Regions from separate parts of the Homo sapiens genome. Here region 1 is linked to region 2. Evidence: promoter capture Hi-C in human tissues and cell types (Jung and others, 2019). All regions are on one chromosome and are shown on one strand. The core of a region is centred on a gene start or on the middle of the fragment in contact, and the rest is flanking DNA. Distances in the headings are between cores, read along the strand shown.

Region 1 (4,929 bases), core at 634-3,133, 260 kb after region 2:
ACAGTGGAAAGATCACAGTTCATTGCAGCCTCAACCTTCCTGGGGCTCAAGTGATCCTCCCACCTGAGCCTCCTGAGTAGCTGGGACTACAGGTGCCACCATGCCAGGCTAATTTTTTGTATTTTTTCGTAGAGATGGGGTTTTGCCATGTTGCCCCAGCTGGTCTCAAACTCTTGGGCTCAAGTGATCCACACTCTTTGGCCTCCCAAAGTGCTGGGATTGCAGGTGTGAGCACCCTGCCTGGCCTAGATAACTCAATTTTTTAAATGAGCAAAGGACTTGAATAGACATTTCTCTAAAGAAGACATATAAATGGCCAAAAAGTACATGAAAAGATGCTCAACATCATTAGTCATTACGGAAATGCAAATCAAAACTACAATGAGATACCACTTTATACCCACTGTGATGGCTATAATTAAGGAAAAGAACAAGTATTGGCAAGAATGTGGGGACACTGAAACCCTTGGGCCTTCCTGATGGGAACATAAAATGGTACAGCCACTGTGGAAAACAGTTGGTGGTTCCTTAAAATGTTAAACATAGAATTGCCGTATGACCCAGCAGTTTCATTCGTAGGGGTATACCCAAGAGACTTGAAAGTAGGTACTCAAATACTTGTATATAAATATTCACAGTAGCAATATTCACAATAGCCAAAAGATGGAAACAACCCAAATATCCATCAATGGATGAATGGATAAACAAAATGTGGTATACCCACACAATAGAATATTATTTAGCAATAAAAATAAATGAAGTACTGATGTATGCTACAACATGGATGAACCTTGAAAACATTGTTAAGTGAAGGAAGCTAGACGCAAAAGATCATGTAGTGTATGATTTCATTTCTATGAAATATCTAGAAAAGGTCAATTCATACAGATAGAAAGAAGGCTAGTGGTTACCAGGGGATGGGGTGAAGGGAGAATGGGAGTGACTGCTTAATGAGTCAGGAGTTTCTTTGGGAGATGATCAAATGTTTTGGAACTAGATAGAGATGATGATTGTACAACATTGTGAATGTACTAAATGCCACTGAAGTGTATACTTTCAATGGCTAATTTTTTGTTACGTAGATTTTACCTACATTTTTTTAAAAAGCAAGTTCCTTAGGCTCCACATTCAGAGCTTTGGATTCAGCATATCTGGCATGATGCCCAGGACCTGAATTTTCAACAAGTACCTCAGATACCCCTGATGCAAGTGGTCCAGGGACCATATTTTGAGAAACATTGCTAAACAATGTTAAGCTTCGAATTGATTCTCTTCCATTCTCCTTTACTTTTTGTAACATACATCATAATTGTATGGCTTATCCTGCACCTCTTTTCCCATAGACTGTAAACTCCATGAGGGCAGGGCCCATATCTTCCTTCTTCATCATCATGATGCTAGCATTTGGAAAAAGCGCCTTGAGGCTGGGCATGGTGGCTCATGCCTGTAATCTCAGCACTTTGGGAGGCTGAGGTCTGGGCAACATGTCAAAAACCCATCTCTACAAAAAAATAAAAAATTAGCTGGGTGTGGTGGCGCATGTGCCTGTAGTCTCCGCTACCTGGGAGGCTGATGCAGGAGGATAGATTGAGTCTGGGAGGTTGAGGCTGCAGTGAGCTGGGATTGTGCCACTGCACTCCAGCCTGGATGAGAGCGAGACTCTGTCTCAAAAAAAAAAATAAAATAAAGAAAAGAAAAGAAAAAGCACCTTGACATTACACATGCCCAGTAGATACAGGGTGAATTTTTTTTTTTTTTTTTTTGAGACAGAATCTCGCTCTGTCACCCAGGCTGGAGTGCAGTGGTGTGATCTCGGCTCACTACAACCTCACCTCCAGGTTTAAGCGATTCTCCTAACTCAGCCTCCAGAGCAGCTGGGATTACAGGCGCGCTTCACCACGCCTGGCTAATTTCTTATATTTTTTGGTAGAGGTGGGATTTCACCATGTTGGCCAGGCTGGTCTTGAACTCCTGACCTTAGGTGATGCACCAGCCTCGGCCTCCCAAAGTGCTGGGATTACAGGCATGAGCCACCACGCCCGGCCTGATATACAGTGAACTGAATGACCGAACTGGATTAACTAGAAGGGATCAGAGTAGAAGGGAAAAATCTTAAGGAGCCTCTAGCCCAAGAATCCACAGTGTAAGTAGTGGGACCAGCGTTTAACCCCCCTTATCCCCATGGCTTCCATTGCACAACAAAATGTATCAGCCCACAGTGTGGAAACCAGGAAACTATGGTAGGGAAAGGAGGCCTGACTGGGCTCCCCTTGGGGAGGCACCTCTAGGAGCTCATGGCCAAGACTGAGCAAGCTTGAGACCCTGGGGCATGGCATCCAGAGGTGCACAGCTCTGTTGGCCTGGCCTGGCTGGAAGACTCTGGCCAGGTTTTCCTGGTCTCCCTGGCTGATCCCAGTGCCTTTTGGCTTGGTGACTGCTCTCACTCTTGGCTGCTTTCACGGTGCCTTAGGGCACACAGTCAGCAGAATAGCTTCCCTCAGCATCCCTGAGCTGGGTCTGGGCCATCCCACTGTCGCCTGTGCTGACTTCTGAGGCCTCATCAACACTGCAGGAAGCATGATGCACCCAAGAGGATGTAGGTGGGACATCCAGGGGATGGAGCCTCCTGCCTGGGCCTCTCATATGGAGCCAGCACAAATATAATTGTATCCTCACTGCTCTTACCTCTTCTCATCCAGGGGCAGGCTTCCTCTAGTCAAGCAATTTTCCTTTTCTCCTCTGTGTCTTCTCTGAAGGGAAGGGTGAAATTCTTCAAGTCTTCACTAAGTTTGTGACCATCAATTAACCCTAAATCAATCAATAATCACCACCCCTATACACACACACTTATATACACAAATATAGGAAGTCAGCCAGGCACAGTGGCTCACGCCTAAAATCCCAGCACTTTGGAAGGCTGAGGCGAGTGGATCATCTGAGGTCAGGAGTTCGAGACCAGCCTGGCCAACATGGTGAAATCCGTCTCCACTAAAAGTGAAAAAAAAAAATTAGCTGGGTGTGGTGGCACATGCCTGTAATCCCAGCTGCTCAGGAAGCTGAGGGAGGATAATCGTTTGAACCCGGGAGGCAGAGGTTGCAGTGAGCCGAGATCACACCACTGCACTCCAGCCTGGGCGAAAGAGCAAGACTCCTCAAAAAAACCATATATATGTGTGTGTGTGTGTGTGTGTGTGTGTGTGTGTGTGTGTGTGTATGTGTATATATGTATATATATGTGTGTATATATATATGTATATATATATTTGAAGTCAATGTCTTTCATAGAAAAAAGTAGGACCTTTTTAAAATCTTATCATTGGCTAATTATGTGGCCTTCTTCAAGGCCTCAAATCCTTCCCTCAACATGAACAGTTACTGCCAGCCAGGGGCAGAGGCATGTGCCTATAGTCCCAGCTACTGCAAAGGCTGAGGAGGGAGAATCTCTTGCGCCCTGGAGTTCGAGTCTGCAGTAAGCTATCATCATGCCACTGCACTCCAGCCTGGGCAACTAACTGAGACCTCCATCTGTAAAATAATTAAATAATTCAAAAAATAAAAAATAATAAATGAAAAAAGTTGTTTCCATTGAGTACCTACAATGCACCAGGCAGTTAAGCTTAGAGCCTCAAAAATGCATCACCTCATTCAGTTCCCACACAACCCTATAAGGTAAGTAACATTTTCTTTTTTCTTTTCTTTTTTTTTGAGACAGAGTTTCACTTTTGTCGCCCAGCAGGGAGTGCAACGGTGGATCTTGGCTCACTGCAACCTCCGCCTCCCGGGTTCAAGCTATTCTCCTGCCGCAGCCTCCCAGGTAGCTGGGATTATAGACGTGTGCCACCACCCACGGCAAATTTTTGTGTTTTTAGTTGAGACGGGGTTTCGCCATATTGGCCAGGCTGGTCTCGAACTCCTGACCTCAGATGATCCACCCTCCTTGGCCACCCAAACTGCTGGGATTACAGGTGTGAGCCACCACGCCTAGCCAGGTAAGTAACATCTTAAAAAGGTAATTGTGAAATATAACATATATACAGAAGATGTCTAAAACATGTATATGAATCTATAATATATTAATGTATATCTATTACATATGTATCTGTAAGAACATTCCCTTTCTTTCTTTATAGTTTTATTACCCATATATGCATTTCTAAATAATATAATTTAGTCTTGCCTATTTTTGAAATATAAGTGAATGGGATCATACTGTACATATTCTTTCGAGTTGTTTTTTTTTTAAACTTACTCTTATCTTCGTGAAAGGCTAGAAAATGTAGACCCTGACTGGACAGCCACATCCCAGCTGAATTCTAATACCATGGAAGAAGGAGAGAATGGATGTTGGTGGATAATTAGCCATTTTGCTACAATGTATTACTCACCCACTTCCCATTATTTCTGGAGTTATTTCTTTCCCGCTTACTTTGATTAATAATTTCCCCTTCTTTTCTATCTCACGGCAACCTCAATGATAAAATCATGGAACCAATGAGTAGGCTTTAGTTCAAGAAGGCAATAATTTCTTTCTAGGTGGTTTTGGGCAACGTGAGCAGAAATGCCCTTCTACACCATCAAATTTTTTTTTTCCTCTCTCTCTCTCTTTTTTTTTTTTTTTTTTTGAGATGGTGTCTCACTCTGTCACCCAGGCTGCAATGCAGTGGCACAATGTTGGTGCACTGGAACCTCCATCTCCCAGGTTCAAGCAATTCTCCTGCCTCAGCCTCCCAAGTAGCTGGGATTACAGGTGTGCACCACCACACTGGGCTAATTTTTTTTTATTTTTAGTAGAGGTGGGGTTTTACCATGTTGGCCAGGCTGGCCTCAAACTCCTGAGCTCAAGTGATCCGCCCACCTCAACCTCCCAAAGCGCTGGGATTACGGGTGTGAGCCACCACGCCCAGCCTCAAATTTTCTTGAATAAACATA
Region 2 (5,044 bases), core at 2,369-4,868:
TGCCATGCAGCCAGCTAGGAGCAGAACCAGAGTGCATGTATGTATCATCTACTCACTCTAAACAGACAAGATCCCCTGCACCACCCACTGTCATGGGGATCAAGAAGCAGGGGGAGGTCCTCCTTTCCCTCCCTGCTGAGGGATAGGGGTGTCTGGGTTAAAACTGGCCTTGAGCAGAGCTGGCAGTTCCTCCTGGTAGTAATGGTCGAGGTGGGCATTGGTAGCCACCAAGTTAAGCAGGTACTCATTGCGGGCTGCTTGCAGCTGCTGGGAGTACTGGGCTGACTGGGCGGACAGCTAGGAGGGTAAACTGATGTCAATAGGAAGCCCTAGACCCCCAGAGTCCTTCCAAGACCAATTGAGAAGCCAGATCCAGAATGGATTCTCACATTATTGAGTGCTTACTATGTGCCTGGCACTACACTAAAAATGTTGCATACACACAACTCCTGCTCAAAATCTTCTAGTGCCTTCTGCACGCATTTAAAATAAAATCCACTGTTCCTTACCATGGTCCACCACGTTCAATATGAGCTGGCCCCCGCAATCTCTCTGACCTCTTTTCAAGCGCTTGTTCCCTTGCTCACAGTACTCCAGCCATACTGGCCCTCTCTCAGTTCCTCGAGCCTACAAAGTTATTCCCACCTCAGACCCTTTGCACTCACCATTTCTTCTCTCTGCAATGTTCTTCCCCTAGATCTTTGCAAGGCCAGCTCCTTCTTGACAGTTAGGCCACCTATTCAGAGAGGCCTCCCTCTAAATTCTACCCCCTTGTTATTCTTTATCATAGTACCTTGTTTTATTTTCATCTTAATCTAAGTATTTATTTGCTGTCTGTCTCTCTTAACCAGACTGTGAGGGCAGGAACTCCATTGGTAGTGTTCTCCACTGTATCCATAATGTCTAGAACAGTGCCTATTATATACAGATCCTCAATAAATGCATATTAAAGGACTGAAAAAGAAGGGTATTCTCTCCATTTTATAGAAGAAAATAAGGCTCACAGAGATCAAGTAAATTAACCAAGGTTACCCACCCAGGAAGTAGGAGAGCCTGGATTCAACCCAGTCTTTCATACATATGCACCTATGTTCCAAACCACTAGACTACTCTGCCTCCCTCTTCCCTGCCCCCACTCATGCCCTCATCCCTCGAACCTTGGTGCTCAGTTTCTGGAGACTGGTCCGAGAGTGGAAGATCCCATGGTCACTTCGGTTTAGCCTGTGCAGATGAGAGAAAGGAGTCAGGCCCACCCCAAGTGGGAGAATATGAGATCAGAGTCAGGCCCAGCTTTGGTGACTTGGCTCCACCCCTAGACAGCCCCACCTCCCTGTTCCCCAACCTTGGGCTTCCTCACTCTCCATGACCCCACCTGGCCTGGACATCAGCCGCCTTCTCCTGTGCCAAGGCCCACACACGTTCCCGCTGCCCATACAGCTTCCGACTTCGGCTCAGCTCCCGGACAGACTGCAGCACCTCAGCCTGCGCCCTCTGGAGGTTCTCTGTTCCCTATTGGGATGCATACACAAAGTCCTTACCTAGACCACCTTTGGTCCCAAGCCAGCTCTTCCTTCACCCCAACCTCTGAGCCATACCTTCCTAAGCACCTGCTCCTTGGCGCTCCGCCCTGTACCCCCTGCTAGGTCACGGTATCGGTCAGACGCCTGGAGTCGGGTTTGGCCCCCAGCCACGGTGGCATCCAGCAGGCAGCGCCAGGCACCGAACACTGTCCTGCCCCTCCCCAGAGAAGGTCTGTGTTGAGGAGGAGAGCACTCCACAGCTTCATGAGACCACCCCCACCCCCTGCCCCCTGACCAACACCATGGGAGACAGAGTGCTTTCCCATCCTCCCTTGTCTGGGAGCCCATCAATCGATCAGCCCATTAGCTCAGCCACAAGCCTCACTCCTGCCCTCCACCCCACCCACAGTGTCCTTGCTGGGTCAGCTCCTCTGCTGCTGCTGTGTCAGCTCTACCTACAGCTCACGTGCCTTCCCCACTTGCTAGGCCTTCATCCCCACAGGTTCCTGGGGCTGAGCTCCCCATCACTTTTTGGCCTCTGTGGCCCTCCCCCTCCATAGGGCCCACCTGCTGTCCATCTCACCGCTCCGGTGCCCTTCCCTCTTCAGGAATGGGCCAGCCAGTTTCTGGAGTGCCTGGTGAAAAAGCCATCACAGAACCAAGTTCCCTTTCAAAGACCCACCCCAACTGGCAGAATATGACATCAGAGTATAATCATACCATTCTTTGGGTACATTATGTGCCACTTGCTTTGCTAAATGCCTTATAGTCATTAATTTGTTTAATCCTTACAACAACCCTACATGAAGGTAAGGTATTATTATTATTCCCATTTCACAGAGAAAGAAACTGAGGTCAAGAAAGGTTAAGTAACTTGTCCAAGGTCACATGGCTATAATTACACAGCAGGGATCTGACACCAGTCTGCTTGACTCTAGGCATCTGCTCTTGACCACAATAGGGATAGGTATGGACAGACATTACTGGTGATATAAGAGAGGCTGGAACAAGAGGTAAGGTCCAGAGAAAAGTCCCATACCTGCCCATACTCCCGTTCAATGGCTGCCCTCTGCTTGCTGTAGGATCTGCGGAGATTGCAGGTCGGGGGTGAGGTGGGGGATAAGGTTATGTTTGGTCCTGTTCTCCCATCCTCAGTCCTCTACTCTGGGCAGGAGGGAGCGGTTGGGGGGAGCCAGGTTCCTAGAGTGTAACTACACCCAGAGGGAATGGGACTGATGGGAGTCCTTGAGATCACCTCGGGCAGCTGCAACACAGGAAACCCTCACCTTACTGCCCCGGGCCCCAGCAGGATCCTCCCCACCCCAGAGGTTCATCTGTAGGCTTAGAGGTGAAGACTGATGGGGGCCTGGGTACGATGTCTGCCAGCCTTCCAACAGGTCTGGAAGAGGGAGAGGGATTCTGCCCTAAGGTTGATTGTGGGGTTGGGGGCAGTGGTGTGGAGTCAAGGGCTTTGAGGGAGGGTTCCTGTGTGTTTATGTGGGTGGGAGGGGGTTGGGAGGGGTTAGGTGGGGGAGCATTCCTATCCAGTATCTGGAGAGGCCAGGCCTAGGGTGAGGGCTGTGGATGGGTCGGCTGGGGAGCTCTTGGCCCCTGTTCCTCCACCCCAGCACATGTATATTGGGGAGAAGTGGCGCACAACGACGAAGGTGAGTGTAAATGAAGGGGGTTGGGGGAGCTACCTGATGTCCTCCAGCAGATCCGCCTCCCTCTGCTGCCAGGTCTGAAGGATGCTCAGCTGTTCCAGGAAGCGAAGCTTCACCTCCTGGGCCGGCTTCACCTGTGGGGGCAAAGAGAGGATGAAGACCCCAGCGCAAGGACCTAAAAAACACTCCGCGCAGGGAGCGGTGAGGGGGCGGGGCCGGGGGGGTGCTGAGCTCTTTCCTCTGTTACTTCTGGTTTGGGGTCTGACCCCTTCCGACTTCCCGTCTCCTACCACAAGTCGGATGCCCCCTTAGCTCCCTCCGTTCCCCCAGCCCGCCAGGAGTCCCCATTCAGGGCCAAGCTCACTTTTCGGGGCGGCGGCTGCATCTCCGCTCCAGCAAGGCGGTCAGCCACTGGACTCCGGAACTGGAGGAAGCCCCGCCCACTATGGAGCCCCGCCCCAGGCCAGGTCAGGCCCCGCCCTCTGCCCGCCCACGACTTGTCCGGCGACGTCGCAGGGCGCGGAAGCGAGAGGGGGCCACCGAGAAACTAAACCTGTTACTGCTGCGAATACGCCGGCAGGGTCCGGGTGGCGGGGCGGGCGGGGCGGACGCAGCGTCCGCTGGGCGGTGGGAAGAACCCCAGGCATCTGAGTCAAGACGCCTAAGTTCTATTTGTAGTGTAACCACTGATTCAGCCTGTAATTATTGATAATTATTCATTTGCATATGTAGATCCCCAGTCCCCGAGCTAATGATGAGGAATGGAGAGGAATTCAGTGTGTGACCAGGGAAACTGAGTCACTGGGCACCTGAGCAAAGATGCATCTGACGAAGAGAGGGCTGGTCCCAGACCTTTTCCTAATTCCCGCTTAACTGGAAAAGCCAGCGTGAGCGGGGTGAGAAAGATGCCTGGATCCAGGAAGGAACCAGGCCCAAAGGGAAAAAGACTTGGCCCCACTGAAAACTAAACGATACCAGTGAGTCGGCGAGAGCTGGGAGATGCGCAGGAAGCCCCTGCCACCTTTAGGATCTTCCAGCCCTAGCACTGCTTCCTGAGGAGCCTCTCCCCAATTCCTCATCCTCCTCACCTAAGCTTCTTTGGCTCAGGCACCTGTCCCAGTACCCCTGACATGTCTCAAAACTCCAGATTCACATTCCAACTCCCCACTGACACCTCTGCTAGTATATCTAATAGGAACCTCAACTTTTAAAGCTTTTAAACCTCCTTCAACCTGATCCTCCCCCCGTAACGTTTTAAATGGCACCGCATTTCCTCCAGTCAGTTAAGTCAGAAACCCAGAGTCAATGTGCCTTCTCCTACCCCTACATTCTATCCATCAGTAAGTCCTACAGGTTCTATTTCAAACAACAATAAACAAACAAAAACCTCTTGATCCACTTCCCTCAATTTCCAAGACCACCATCCTAGTCCAAGCCCCCATTATTAGACTTCTGGTCTAATATCTGATCTCCTTGCTTCCACACTGCCCTCACCCCAACCCACTGTTCACACAGCACTCAGAGTGATCAACCTTTTTTTTCTTTTTTAAAGGGAAATAAGATCTCATAATTTACTTGCTTAAAATGCACTTGCTTCAGAATAAAATCCAAATAGAATCCATGGCCTTCAAGGCTACGCATGGAAGACCCTGCTGGTCTTTCTTACTTCAGCCTGTACTCTCCTCCCACTGTCTGCTCACTGTGCTCCAGCCTCTTTGCTGTTCCCTCAGTAGACCAAGTCCCTTCCAATGCAGAGTTCTTCATGCCTGCTTTCTTTCTCCAGAATCTCCTCCTTCCAGCGTTCCATCTGTCGCCTCCAACAGCTTCTTTCCCTTACTTTGCAACTCTTCACAGATGCCT

The links. The method cuts DNA at HindIII sites, captures the fragments that hold promoters and counts their contacts. A contact is called where the count stands out against the background at its distance.
Region 1: a fragment that was not itself captured here is called in contact with the fragment with the promoter of FCHSD1 in region 2 in 1 of the 25 tissues and cell types used here (dorsolateral prefrontal cortex).

Annotation. Positions count from the first base shown.
Region 1 is chr5:141,908,041-141,912,969 of GRCh38, forward strand. No RefSeq gene overlaps it. Among named protein-coding and RNA genes, the nearest start is that of DELE1, 13 kb to the right of the region's middle. The HindIII fragment of the contact is 4,910 bases long and covers 1-4,338 here.
Region 2 is chr5:141,647,800-141,652,843 of GRCh38, forward strand. FCHSD1 (FCH and double SH3 domains 1) reads right to left here and starts at 3,619. Exons shown (of 20, transcript NM_033449.3): 1 at 3,549-3,619; 2 at 3,221-3,318; 3 at 2,560-2,605; 4 at 2,088-2,155; 5 at 1,596-1,737; 6 at 1,373-1,509; 7 at 1,158-1,221; 8 at 169-297. The coding sequence starts at 3,569. RefSeq lists an enhancer at 1,641-2,219. The HindIII fragment of the contact is 10,660 bases long and covers 1-5,044 here.